5 separate regions of the Homo sapiens genome follow, and all the other regions are linked to region 4. The links are contacts of gene promoters, found by promoter capture Hi-C in blood cells and fetal thymus (Javierre and others, 2016). All regions are on one chromosome and are shown on one strand. Each heading gives the region's core, a stretch centred on a gene start or on the middle of the fragment in contact. The rest is flanking DNA. Distances are from core to core; before and after follow the strand shown.

Region 1 (2,700 bases), core at 22-2,521, 340 kb before region 4:
TCAGCACTAGAAGGAGCACAGTGATGTTCTTCCTGCAGTATGCAAACATGGGATGAGAGAGAGCCTTCTGTGCAGCGCAGGACTTGTAGGAAATGAGGCCTGGGGATGGAGGAACTAGGTGTGGGCTACAGGAGGGTGGGAGGTTGTGCCCAGGGTGGGCAGGAAGGTAAATAGCAGGCCAGCCATAGAGAGGCGTTTAAAGGTGTTCCTGACAGAAGGTGGTCAGCTTCCCCAAGGCCCTTCCACTCAGAGACGGCCCAGGATGATTCTCATTTTGCCTGTCAGTTTGCATTCTGCCTCTGTTTGGGATGGTTGTGCACCTGAACTTTCCCAGGCACAGGTAACCATGGTGTTCTCTGCCTCATGTGGTGTGGACCCTGTGGCATGCTTGAGAGGCTCTCGGCAGCCTGGCATGTTCCCTGGTGTGTGTCTGGAGCTCCAGACACTGACCCTGTGGGGGCTCCTTGATGAGGGAACTTCCCATCTGGGCACAGTTTCCTCGCTGCAGCCTGAAGGTGCAGTACTTGGGCCAGTGGCCACATCTCAGGTTAGTGAAGTCCACAGGTTGCCCCTTTATGCACTGCCGCAGGATTTCTCTCCTGTGTGACGCCTGCGCCTGCCTCCTTCGCCTTCAGCTTGTTGGTTTTGGCTCAGTGTCCTGTCCTATGAAGGTCACTTTAGGTTTGGTTTGTCATTCCATCTCCTAGGTGTCTTCAGATCTGGATCATGCACTTGTCTGGGGCACTGAGCCCCTTCCGGACCACCTCAGCCTTGGGGAGCAGGGGCAGAAGGTGGCCCACTCCTGTCATGACACTAAGCTGTCATGATGTTTTCCTTCTTACTGACAGAGGTGACAGGAAAGACTTTGCCATTTAGTTGGCTTACCAGCCAACTAAATTGATCACATGTGTGGACAAAGCTGCTCACTTCCAGTTGTTCCAGTTTCGTGACCTTTCTGAGAGTCTGAGAGCTTCAGATCATTTCTGCAAATTGTTTTGTTGCCTGGGGAGTTTTGGTGTCCCTTTGGTACCTGTTTAGTGCTTGGGATATTTGTCTGGGCATTGAAGGTGTGAAGCTCAAGCGGTCAGGTGCCCTTCTACTGTTTCTCTTCTCATCTTGTGTTTTAAGATTTCTGGTTCATAGATCATATATATATGTATTTTTTTTGCCATACAGCATGATTTTGTATATTTTAATAATTTAAATGATTATTTTGTAGTGGATGAATTAAGTCCTTTATATGAGGATGTGTTTACAGTTACGTAGAAAAAGCAGGTTACAAAAGAAGATGCATGATGTGGTTATAATTACAAAATGATTAGAAGAAAATAGATGAAAATGTTCTAAGTGGCTGTAACTGATAGTATCACGAATCACTTTTACTTTTTTTTGTTTTTTAAATATTTTCTGAATTTCCTACAATGGATATGTATGATACTCAGGAAAAAAGATTAATTTTTAAAAAGTTTATACTCTTTGATTTACTAATTTCTGTTCTAGTAGTCCGTTCTAAGGAGATAATTAGAAACGTAAATAAAGATCTTATACACAAAGATATCCATTACAGAATCACTTAGAACAGGTTAAGTGGAAAGCCATTGTGCAGTCCTGCAGGACTGTTAACTGGGCCATACTTCCTACTGTGGATGCTGAAAGCACATACGTTTATGTTCTCTGTTTTTTTCTGACTGTATAACATGTGCCCAAGCCCTTGGTCGCTCCCTTTTACAATTTTTAGCTGGACCTAGTTGAAATAGTCTTAGCTTTCTGTTACTGCTAGCATTTTGTTTAAACTAGTGATGTATTCTGCATTTGGGATTTTTAGTGGCGCTCTAGGCTGACGCAGCTGATGTGGCTTCTTTCCTGGTGATGTTCCTTCTTGTCTCATTTGAGCTCATTGGAGAGCTGTGCTTGTGGCTCGCTCTTTGTTTATTCCTTTCTTTGTATCTGCAGTTGCGTGATGAGGTCTGCTGTTTGGTGACTGCAGCCTGTGACAGTGCCTCTCGTGCACGGGGGTTTGTTGGTTTGGCCTTGGCTCACCTCCTACTTTTACACCTTCTGAGGTCACACAGCCACTTTTCTTCTGCCTGACTGAGCCTCCTTCTGCATCAGAATTCAGTCAGAGCAAAGCTCCCCAGTGACTTCCTGTGTCTTCTGAGAGCTGCGATCCAGGAGGGTGAGAAAAGCATCATTACTGTGTCTGCAGAGAGCAAGGCTGTGCCTAGGGCCCGGCCACTCCTGCCTTGTTGCCAAGCGGTTGGGAGATCTGAGGGCCCGGACTTGCTCACAGTTCCCTGTGGCCCTCACTGTGGGCCTCTAGGCAGCCCTGCTTCCCCTTTACAGGCAGTGAGGCTTTCCATGCCTATAGGGGTCAGCCCCATGCACGAGGTGTGCCTATCCCCACAGGCCTCCCCATGTTCTGAGAGTTGTGTGGGTGTGTGACCTCCCCCATGGCCCACACCTGTGCCTGCTTCAGTCCTGCAGAGGACACCATGAGGTCAGGACGGAGTTGCCGAGGCTTGAGGACATGCCCCATACAGGTTGGACAAGGGGCCAGCACTTACTGCGCCCTGACCCCAGGCTGTCTCCAGTCTGGCCTCCCTGCTCTTGCCTGCAGAGTACTGGGCTCCCATCCTCCACAGGCATCTTGGTGATGTCACTTTTCATCCGGTGTCAAATGTGCTTTGTATTTCTATCTGA
Region 2 (2,700 bases), core at 50-2,549, 290 kb before region 4:
GTGGCAGCATGGCGCACCTGCCTTTTTACCACCACAGTCATTTGAAAGCCTGTGAGGCGCGCATTCATTCTGCTTCCTCTTCTGAATAACCAGCCTATGTGCCGCCCCTCTCCCTAATGTCACTAGTTTTGTCCAGTCCCCTCTGTTTCTGGGAATTCGGGATGAAACTGATAATCTCATAGTCGTTAGACAGCATCTCCATCACCGATCTTCAGGGGTGCTAAACCCTGCACCCAGTATTTGCGGAATGTTCCACATTCTTCTAACATGTGTTCCTGGGTCAAGATGACCTTGGTTGCTGGCTGCCAGCCACTCACTTTCCCGGTGCTTTTGAACTAAACAGTTCCCAGGATTCCTGTTCCCTGGCAGGCACAGAATTGTTTACTTTCCAATATGAAATACTGAGGAACATTATAGGGCTAACTGAAGTAGAAAAAAGGTTGTTCTATTTAGTTGAAAACTCCTGTTATCCCCTAAGGAAATACCTACAGGGCTAAGTTATGAGGAATTCCTTAACTGGATTAAGCTGGTGGTGTTCGATGAGAGAAAACCCACGAAGATACCACTGTTCAGCAGCCCCCCGACCAAGGATGCAGCTGGGCAATGGAAATGTGCTTGGATGCAGGGTGCCCTTAGGTGGGCTGTGAAAGGCCGCTGAAGGACAGACATGTTACTCACCTCGTCTAGCACCTGGGAATCTCTTAGTGCCTGGTCAGTGATGTCAAATTGGAAAGCCAGCATGCGGGGAAAGCTGAAGGCCCGGGTCCTTACGACCAGCTGCTCAGCAGAAACGACACTAGGAGGGGAGGGGAGGGCATGTCCTGAAGGCACTGAGCCATGTGGCTTCTCAGACCTAGGGTGTAGGCACTGGAACCATCCTGCACAAAGCACTCTAGCCAGGCCTTTCTCAACAAAAGGAGAGGATCTCAGAGAAGGCTTCTCCTCCGAGAACATGGCGTGTGGGGCTGGGCCTGCTTCCAGGAAGGTGTGCGCAGTGGCCGCACCTGTGAAGTTCCAGTAACTGTGGTGCTCTAGAGGCCTAGGGACAAACTAAGGCTGGGATTTATCATGAGTCATCTTGGCGTCTTGAGATACCTGGTAGACCTGAGACTAAATTTAGATCCCTAGACTAATTTGCAGCTCACAGATAGATTGACCACATTTAAACTTCTTACACCCCCTAAAATAAAGGCTTCTCCAGCTCTGCACTACTGTTTCTGCCCTGTCATAAAGGAAAATGTCTCAAGTTGGATCTGCCTTCCTGTCGCTGCAGAGCTTTGTCCCTTTGGGAATTTGGAACTGTGGAGAGAGCTGCCACAGCTTCCCGGCCTAAACCCTGATGCTCCTCTCGACCTCCCATTTGAAACACAGTGTGCGGCCTTGGCTTCTCCACCCCGATCCCCAGCACCCTTGGAGGCTGCTGGTCCCCCGGTAACCCCCAGCGGGTCAGTGTCCTGGAGAACGGCCTTCCAGGCAAGGGCTGCCCCCCTGCAGCCAGAAGGCCACCTGAGCCTCATTCTCCAAGGCTGCTAGAGGGCACACTTGTGGCACAAGGGACAGGTGTGTCCCTGGGGCCTCTTGCCCAGTCTTGGCCTCCGGGGTACTGAGGGGGAAGAAGAGCATTTCTGTGTCAGGAGCTGGTGCCCGCTGGTCACTGCCATTGGTTCCCATGGAGCTAGCTTGTGGTTGACCCAGGTAGTCAGACCCTCCCCGGGAGCTGCCTGGAACATCCTTCCTGTCTTTACACCCATGGTCTTGTCAGGTGCTGCTTCTGAGAAATTGGGGTGTCCTTTAAAATACGTAACCCTAGTCATGGGCTGGGGATGTGACTGTTCCAGCCCAGGTGCACCCAGCTTGGGTCTCAGGCCTCAGAACTGAGCAGTACCTTGGGCTTCTGAGGTTCTCCCAATAAAATGTGGCCCCTTGGGATGAGCTGCAGGCACACTCCAGCTTCTGGAGCGAGACTCATGACCTTAATTTGTAAATGAGTTATTTGCTGTTTACTCTTCAGATGAGAATAGTTACTTACCCCAGCAGCTTAGTCAGGGATTTGTTTTTTCTACAAACAGGATTCTGGGGCAGGGCAGCAGTGAGCGCCAAGGCCATGGTGAGCAGCGTCAGAGCAGGGACGTGCTGATCAGTATTTCCTCTCCTCGGCAGGAGCTTTTGAAGTTGGGGTTTGGCTTGTTGATTTCTAAATCTCAAAGCGTAGTAAACATTGGGACACCAGAACCCAGGATACTTCTCTTGGACTGAACTGAGCTTAGGTCACTTGTTTAGCCAGTGTCTTGAGTGCTGTGCGCTGAGTGCCCGGAGACGAAAAGCGGGACACACAGCAGTCAGAGCTCAGGACTCGGAGTAATCCTAAATGTGTTTTTCAGGGCAAATAATTAATCACATCTTGTTATAAGCACACGACTTCTGAGGTTAAAACCACAAAACTAAGCCCTGAGAAGCAAAATACAAAGGACTGAAGATAAAATTTGAGAATAAAATGAGAAACCAGATCTCTTCAAATGTGAACCAAAGGAGCTTGCGTTTCTCAGCAGACAGGAGAGGCAAAGAAGAAGGCTTGTCGACATTCCATCCATTTGGCGCTGGAATGGCCAGATCTACTTTTTACTTTTTGTTGGGTTTTGTAATACTTGGCTCATGATAAAGTGATTTTTCAGCGTTCGTTTATACCACTGGGCTGGGGGA
Region 3 (2,737 bases), core at 163-2,662, 370 kb before region 4:
GCAGGTCACATACAACGGGAACCCCATCAGGCTAATAGTAGACTTTTCAGCAGAAGCCTTACAAACAAGAAGAGATTGGGGAAATATATTCAGCATCCTTAAAGAAACAAAATTCCAACCAAGAATGTCATATCCAGCTAAATTAAGCTTCATAAGCAAAGGATAAATAAAATCCTTTTTACACAAGCAAACACTAAGGAAATTCATTATTACCAGACTGCCTTACAAGAGGTCCTTAAGGGAGTGCTAAATATGGAATACAAAACAAAAGACTGTTGCCTGCCACCATAAAAACACATAGTCCACTGACACTATAAAGCAACTATACAATCAAGTCTGTGTAACAACCAGTTGACAACATGACTGGATCAAATCCTCACATATCAATATTAACCTTGAATGTAAATGAGAAAACATCCCACTTAAAAGGCACAGAGTGGCAAGTTGGATAAAGAAGCAAGACCCAACTGTATGCTGTCTTCAAGAGACCCATCTCTTGGCTAGGAGTGGTGGCTCACATCTCTAATCCCAGCACTTTAGGAGGACAAAGCAGGAGGATCACTTGAGCCCAAGAGTTGAAGACCAGCCTAGGCAACATAGTGAAAGAATTTAAAAAGAGAGAGACCCATCTTATATGCATGACACTCATAAGCCCAAAGTAAAGCAATGGAGAAAGATCTGTGAAGCAAAGAGAAAACGAAAAAGAACAAGAGTTACTATTCTTACTTCAGACAAAATATAAACCAACAATGCTCAAAGAGGACAAAGAAGGACATTCCATTAATGATAAAGAGTTCAATTCAACTATCCTAAATATATATGCATCCCAAATTGGAGCACCCAGATTCATAAAACAAATTATTAGAGACCTACAAAGAGACTTAAATAACCACATAATAATAGTAGGGGACTTCAACACCCTACTGACAGTGTTGGACAGAACATTGAGACAGAAAACTAATAAAGGTATTTGGGACCTAAACTCAACACTTCACCAAATGCACCTGACAGACATCTACAGAATGCTCCACCCAACAACAGAATATACGTTTTTCTGTTCTTATGTACACATGGCACATACTCTTAAGATTGACTGCACACTCAGCCATAAAGCAATTCTCAACAAGTTAAAAAAAAAACAAACCAACCACACTCTCAACCACAGTGCAATAAAAATAGAAATTAAAAACAAGAAGATCTCTCAATACCATATATGGAAATTAAACCACTGGCTCCTGAATGACTTTGGGTAAAGAATGAAATTAAAGCAGAAATCAAGAAACTCTTTGAAACTATTGAAAACAAGGATGCAACATACCAGAATATCTGGGACACAGCTAAAGCAGTGGTAAGAGGAAAGTTTATAGCTGTGAGCACCCACATCAAAAAGTCAGAAAGATCTCAAATTAACAACCTAACATCACACTTAGAGGAACTAGAAAAACAAGAGCAAACCAACCCTAAAGCCAGCAGAAGAAAAATAACTAAAATGAGAGCTGAACTGAACAAAGTTGACATGTGAAAACCCATACAAAAGATCAATGAAACCAAAAGTTGGTTCTTTGAAATACTATCGCAAGGACAAAAAACCAAACACCGCATGTTCTCACTCACAGGTGGGAATTGAACAATGAGAACACATGGACACAGGAAGGGGAACATCACACACCCGGGCCTGTTGTGGGGTGGGGGGAGGGGGGAGGGATAGCATTAGGAGATATACCTAATGTTAAATAACGAGTTAATGGGTGCAGCACACCAACATGGCACATGTATACATATGTAACTAACCTGCACGTTGTGCACATGTACCCTAAAACTTAAAGTATAATAAAAAAAAAGAGAGTAAACCCCAGGTGTGGACAGACATGTAACCCATAGGTCTTCCCTGCAGTGGAGCGCTATTGATCTCACAGCCAAGAACAGTGCTGAATTTGTCCTCTCTGAAGAAGATAGAGTCAAAAAGTACAAGGAGTGAATGACTGAGCTACTATACTCAATTTTATTATTATTATCAATTAATTAACTTATTTTAATTGTCAAATAAAAATGATATATGTTTATGGTGAAAAAAAAAATGAGACTCATAGACCTCTAGCTAGACTGATAAAGAAAAAAAGAGAGAGAAGATCCAAAGAAACACAATCAGAAATGACAACGGTGACATTACCACTGGCCTCACTGAAATACAAGAAACCCTCAGAAAGTATTATGAACATCTCTATGCACACAAACTAGAAAACCTAGAAGAAATGGATAAATTGCTGTAAACATTCAACTTACCAATATTGAACCAGGAAGAAATTGAATACTTGAACAGACCAATAACAAGTTCCAAAATTGAATCAATAGTAACAACAACAACAACAACAACAAAAACCTACCAACCAGAAAAAGCCCTGGACCAGATGGATTCACAGCTGAATTCTACCAGACATGTAAAGAATAGCTGGTACAAATCCTACTGAAACAATTCTAAAAAATTGAGGAGACAGACCTCCTCCCTGATTTATTCTATGAGGCCGGAATCATTCTGATACCAAAACCTGGTGAAAAAAATAAAACTTTAAGCTAATATCCCTGATAAAATTAGATGCAAAAATCCTCAGCAGAACACTAGCAAATTGAATCCAGCAGCACATTTAAGAGCTAATCCACTATGACCAAGTAAGCTTTATTCCTGGGATGCAAGGTTGGTTCAACATATACAATTAAATAAATGTGATTTCTCACATAA
Region 4 (2,700 bases), core at 93-2,592:
CAATTCCTTTCTCTGGAACCTTGGACAAGCTACCTAACTTCTCTGAGCCTCAGTTTCTTCAACTATAAAACAGGGCTAACAGTAGCACCTACCTCAGAGGAATGTCAAATTCTCCTGCAGTCTATATTAACTACTTTTCTTTTATCAACTTAGTTTTTTACCGAAGTTATTTTTCAAAGGAATTTTTATGTCATCGTAAACACAAAGTCATTATCAGTTGAGATGGTTAGCTGACCTACCAAAACAAATGCCATGAAACCAAACGGAGTTATTAAATCCCAACTAGAGATACTTCTGCATACTGGAGGCGGAATTATCTAGCTAGGGATATAGTCAAGACTTCCTCCTTGTCAGTCATCCACACAGACGACTGCGATTAAACGAGTTAATACCCTGCAATGCGTTTACAGCTGGGCGCCGTACGCGCTGCTCCCAACTCTAGGCCATCGTCATGACAGGATCAATGCCAGTTCATGCCCACTTTCTAGGGCTGGGAGTAGGAGACCGAGGATGTCTGTGGAGATTCACCCGCCTGGCCCGGGAACCCTGGCCAGCGGGCCCTGGGGGACTTGGGGTGGTCACGTACTGGACTCGGGACTTCTCTTCCCAGGGCGCCGGTGGGTCCTCACACGCTCGCCGCAGGGCCGCGATCTCAGCTTGCAAGGCGCGCACCTCTGCCAGCTCTGCGTCCATGGCGCGTTGCTGACCGCAGCCGGGCCGGCAGCGCAGCTGTCACTCCGACCTGCGCGCTTCACCCGCGCTTCAAGCCTCGCGCGCGCTCCCGGCGCGGACCATCCCAGAGCTCACGCGGAGGGGAGGCGGGAGAGCTCCGCGTGACCCCAGCGGCCCTGCACGTCCAACTCCGCTCTCGCACGAGAGCCTGAGTCCTCCACTTCCCCGCACACGTTTCCCTGGCTGTCTAAGCAGTGGCTATACTTTCTCTGGAGAGCGCGTTCTTTGCTACTCCAAGCCCAAGCGCTCCGCTGCTCACCCTAGCCGGCAGCCTTGGAGCCGCCCGGCCGCGTGCCTCACTAAAGAGGCAGGGCTGGGATCACGTGGAGGGGAGCGCCTCTTTATTTTTTTCACCTACTTCCTCTCTTACGCCGACCTAGTCCAGGAATTGGTACACACAGCGATAGTGTTCAATAGAAACTAGGGGATTTTGGTTTAGGCTCTTTTGCAGTCGTTGAGGGGGAGGTGACGGAGGCGTCAGGGAAGGTGGGAGGACGGAAAAGGAAATTAAAAGCTCTTGGGAACTGAATTGTGGTAACGGAACCTTAGGAGGCTGGGTTGGAAATCGAGTAGGAAGGAAGAGAGGATGCTCCGTTGGGACACGTGACCAGAAGTTAGGGGCTGCAGCGGCGCTGGCTTTAGGTGAACGACGTGGTGAGGAGTGGGTTTCGGGCATGAGAAGTCACAGGGCCGTTTCCTAGTCTCTCTTCACTTCTTTGGGTCTTCTCAGAGAAAGAAGGCTGCCGTGGGTAGGCTGGGGGCGGAGACTATCGGGAAGAGGTAGGCCGAAGTTCTGCCCAGAATACACGCCATGTGGTGGACGCTGGTTGGGAGTCTCTTCTGGAAAGAGTCTGTCAGCTCTTGGGGAAGGGAAGGGCGAGAGCTGAGCGCCTGCCGGGTGCTAAACGAAATGAGAGATACTATGATGGGCCCTAGTACCTCTGGAAAAGTTTTCCTGAGTCCCCTGTGATACAGCAACCTTCATAGTATAGTGTTAAGAATTCCAAGTTCTGAAGGTAGACCTGCATTATAATCCTGGATTCACTAATTTTCGGTATGGCATTGAGGAAGTGACTTAACCTCTTCTGCTCTCCTGAAAAATGGGAAACATGCAAACTACTTTGTACAATGCAGGCACATAGCAAAAACACAAGTCTGTATTCGCTATATCCCTTGATCTTTGTGTCTGAACCCCACTTTGCAGCACTTTTATTGTGACATAATATTGTGCCATTTGTTTTATTCTTTTGTGACTATAAGGAGCTCCTAGCCTCTCTATTCACTTCTTTGGGTCTTCTAGGAGGAAGAAGGCTGGGGTGGGTAGGTTGGGGGTGGAGACAATTAGGAAGAGGTAGGCTAGCTCTTTTTATCTTTTAGTGCGTTACATCCTGTTTCTGTCAGACTTTGTTAAAGACAGTAAATGAATGTATGAGTGAGTCAAGGAAAAACATCTAAAAACATGAATACATAAAATTAAGAGGGATAGAGTGTAATATTATGGCCATTTGGAGGAAAAAAACTCTGTCTGTACCTGTGTCTATATGGGTATGGGGTTGCTGTTCCAAAGTGCATTCATGAAAGATGTGGATGTAGGGCTTGGGCAAAACCTCGAAGACTAAAATTTGGAAGTAATACAATAGGAAGTGAAATACAGATCCAGGAGACGGATTTGATACAGAAGGTTCAGAGGAAGTAGTTGTTTTGTTAGATTTTAGAAGAACTAAGGGAAAGAACTCTTCTCTGTATACAGAAAATTACTTTTCCCACTGAAACACACCCAAGTATATGCCCAGCCTTCATGAAAGTGAACAGAGAAACGAAGCGCCTTTATGTGGGTGGCCTTAGCCAGGACATTTCTGAGGCAGACCTACAAAATCAGTTCAGCAGATTTGGAGAAGTTTCGGATGTGGAGATCATCACACGGAAAGATGACCAAGGTAATTTATGGTCCTTCACTGGGCAGTTATA
Region 5 (2,700 bases), core at 14-2,513, 470 kb before region 4:
GCCAATATGGTGAAACCCCATCTGTACTAAAAAATACAAAAATTAGCCGGGCATGGTGGTGAGCGCCTGTAGTCCCAGCTACTCGGGAGGCTAAGGCAGAAGAATCTCTTGGACCTGGGAGGTGGAGGCTGCAGTGAGCGGAGATCATGCCACTGCACTCCAGCCTGGGAGACAGGGCAAGACTCCATCTCAAAAAAAAAAAAAAAACGATTGACCATGACTCGGTAATTCCTGGGCTTCAAAGTCAGTCGCCTTGTCTTAGTTCACAGGCTTGTATTGCAGGACTGGCTTCTGTTATATAGCAGGGCTCACATACTCTCTCCTACAGGGATGTAGGTGGTATTCAGACTAGTTCCTTTTCCTGCTGATTATACTACAGGATGTGGGTTATCCAGAGCAGAGTGCATTGGTCGAAGTTGCAAGAGCTCTCAGAGAGCTTCCATAGGTTTGGAGACCCATACGATTCCCACAGGTGGGCCCCTTGAGCCTCAGCAACCAGGACAGAGGGCCACTGCCCCACGGCCACTTTGGCCTCCATCTGTAACAAAATAGTCAAGTAACCCTGTTGGATCTAGGGAGAAGCCCTTTCCCAACACTGGGTGCTAGCTTTACCCAACGTTACCCAACCCACTTCACCGAAGCCTCATTGTCCTCCCAGGCTGACTCCCACCCCTTGCTCCCTTTAATCTGCTTATTTTTTTCAATAAATTTTTCCCCACTGAGTGCTACTCTTCATCAAAAGCAAATTCAGGCCGGGTGCGGTGGCTCACACTTGGAATCCCAGCACTTTGGGAGGCCAAGGTGGGCGGATCATTTGAGGTCAGGAGTTTGAGACCAGCCTGACCAACATGGTGAAACCCCATCGCTACTAAATACAAAAATTATCTGGGCGTGATGGCGGGTGTCTGTAATCCCAGCTACTCGGGAGGCTGAGGCAGGAGAATAGCTTGAACCCAGGAGGCAGAGGTTGCAGACAGCCAAGATTGCGCCACTGCACTCCAGCCTGGGCAACAAGAGTGAGATTCCCCCTCAAAAAAAAAAAAAAAAAGCAAATTCAGCTCATCCCATGAAGCCGAGGCCAGCACCCGTCTCCCCTAAGGCCCTTTTCTGTCTGGTGGGCCAGTGTTCAGGCCACCATGCATGCTGTTGCCACTGTGTCCTCGTGGCTGAGCGCAGTTAGGATACATGTTTCATTACTCAAAAGTATTGGGTTTCCCCATACTTGCATTTTGTAAGTCGTGGTCACACCTCATTGTCATTTAGTCTGAATATGTCATAGAGGTTTCCATTGTCTTACTTGTGCATGGAGGGGCTGCTCCCTTGGGGAATTTGGACCCACCGGGTGATGCCTACTGCTTTAGTTCCATCACCATCCCAGTGGTTTTTCCTGGTTTGTGTAAGAGCTTTCCATTCACAGAACAGGGTGGTTTGTGTCTGTGCACAACACACTGTGGCATGTTGGACAGGCCACCATTCTATGTCGTCCAAGATAACCAGGGAGAACTTTGTAAGCCTCTGATCACCTGGGTTTATAGTTACACAGGAGTCAGTCAACCAGCAATCATACACTACACAGTCTGATGCCCCAATAGGGAGTAGTTCCCAAAAAACCCTTCCCAAAAGATACCCTTTGTTGTAGATGTACCCTGAAAAGTCAGAGTTGAAAGATGCTAGAGTTCCACTTGGTCATCGTCGTGTGACCACAGTGTCTCTGACAGTGATGTCACTAGGTTTGCAGGTTGCTATTCGACCTTGTCAGATTCCTAAAACAGGGATGGTTTGACAAACACACAAGTTTACCCTTTCAGGCATCTGGTATAACTGTGCTAAGAGACAATATAATTCCCTTGCTCTGAGCTTACCTCGAGGCACCAATATATTGTTGGGTTTCTCTCATTGCATAACCCATTTATTCATTCCTTTGCCCTCAGCTACTATTTCTCCTTCTCTCCATTTGTCATTGATTTTCACCCAACTTTCACACCTTTAGAAAGGATGAAGGGATGTTAGGTTCATCCACTGTGTAGGCCCAGATGGCCAGCAGTGTAGGCCCAGATGGCCAGCAGCAATACCACTTCAGCAGGTGCCTCCCGCAGGGCCATTTCCAGTCATGTAAGGTAGGGCTGCAAAGAGACGAACTGTGAGGCTGCCCTGACCACCAGGAGATACAGCTGCACTCACTGTCCACCTCTGATTTGCCAGATGCAGTGGAGGCACAGCTATCCCATCAGACCTTTAGGATTTCTGACACAAATGTTAAAAGATATAACAACTGTTTCTCACTTAAGAATCATTCCTGCCTCTGGCCGGGTGCGGTGGCTCATGCCTGTAATCCCAGCACTTTGGGAGGCCAAGGCCGGCGGATCACAAGATCAGGAGTTCGAGACCAGTCTGACCAACATGGTGAAACCCTGTCTCTACTAAAAATACAAAAATTAGCTAGGTGTGGTAGTGTGAGCTTTACCTACCCAGTGGCAGATGCTTCCAACACTTGCAGCTGTGGGCCTGATCTCAGGCTCTTTTCAGCAGGTAGGAGACAAGAAAGTTGAGGTGCTGTTGTGAAGAACTGCATAGTCGTAGCAGCATCCTTCCCGGCCATCTTCCCCAGATCACCCCAAGAGTGGAGGGATCTATCTAGTGGGGATCCTCCTTGACCACCACATGTTAAGTGTGAGCACACATGCATGGAGGTGTGTAAGC

Evidence for each region. The method cuts DNA at HindIII sites, captures the fragments that hold promoters and counts their contacts. A CHiCAGO score of 5 or more calls a contact.
Region 1: a contact is called between a fragment that was not itself captured here and the fragment with the promoter of NOL8 in region 4, in 17 of 17 cell types (monocytes, erythroblasts, megakaryocytes and 14 more). The highest score is 11.5, in monocytes.
Region 2: a fragment that was not itself captured here is called in contact with the fragment with the promoter of NOL8 in region 4 in 6 of 17 cell types (M1 macrophages, M2 macrophages, endothelial precursors and 3 more); the score reaches 11.5 in M1 macrophages.
Region 3: a contact is called between a fragment that was not itself captured here and the fragment with the promoter of NOL8 in region 4, in 2 of 17 cell types (M2 macrophages and M1 macrophages). The highest score is 5.6, in M2 macrophages.
Region 5: a contact is called between a fragment that was not itself captured here and the fragment with the promoter of NOL8 in region 4, in 2 of 17 cell types (endothelial precursors and erythroblasts). The highest score is 5.8, in endothelial precursors.

Annotation. Positions count from the first base shown.
Region 1 is chr9:92,664,282-92,666,981 of GRCh38, reverse strand. The region is part of intron 1 of IPPK (inositol-pentakisphosphate 2-kinase); the gene reads left to right. Among named protein-coding and RNA genes, the nearest start is that of IPPK, 4.5 kb to the left of the region's middle. The HindIII fragment of the contact is 6,089 bases long and covers 1-2,700 here.
Region 2 is chr9:92,616,411-92,619,110 of GRCh38, reverse strand. CENPP (centromere protein P) reads right to left here. Exons shown (of 8, transcript NM_001012267.3): 8 at 1-2,700. All of the region lies in intron 12 of IPPK (inositol-pentakisphosphate 2-kinase), which reads left to right. LOC100128361 (a long non-coding RNA gene) reads right to left here and starts at 1,061. Exons shown (of 1, transcript NR_036505.1): 1 at 1-1,061. The HindIII fragment of the contact is 2,995 bases long and covers 1-2,700 here.
Region 3 is chr9:92,695,190-92,697,926 of GRCh38, reverse strand. No RefSeq gene overlaps it. Among named protein-coding and RNA genes, the nearest start is that of IPPK, 26 kb to the right of the region's middle. The HindIII fragment of the contact is 2,525 bases long and covers 150-2,674 here.
Region 4 is chr9:92,323,992-92,326,691 of GRCh38, reverse strand. It overlaps NOL8 (nucleolar protein 8), which reads left to right and starts at 1,342. Exons shown (of 17, transcript NM_017948.6): 1 at 1,342-1,386; 2 at 2,483-2,669. The coding sequence starts at 2,531. CENPP (centromere protein P) reads right to left here and starts at 739. Exons shown (of 8, transcript NM_001012267.3): 1 at 587-739. The coding sequence starts at 693. RefSeq lists enhancers at 1,134-1,243, 1,274-1,393, 1,172-2,060. The HindIII fragment of the contact is 10,709 bases long and covers 1-2,700 here.
Region 5 is chr9:92,792,253-92,794,952 of GRCh38, reverse strand. No RefSeq gene overlaps it. Among named protein-coding and RNA genes, the nearest start is that of BICD2, 29 kb to the right of the region's middle. The HindIII fragment of the contact is 8,551 bases long and covers 1-2,700 here.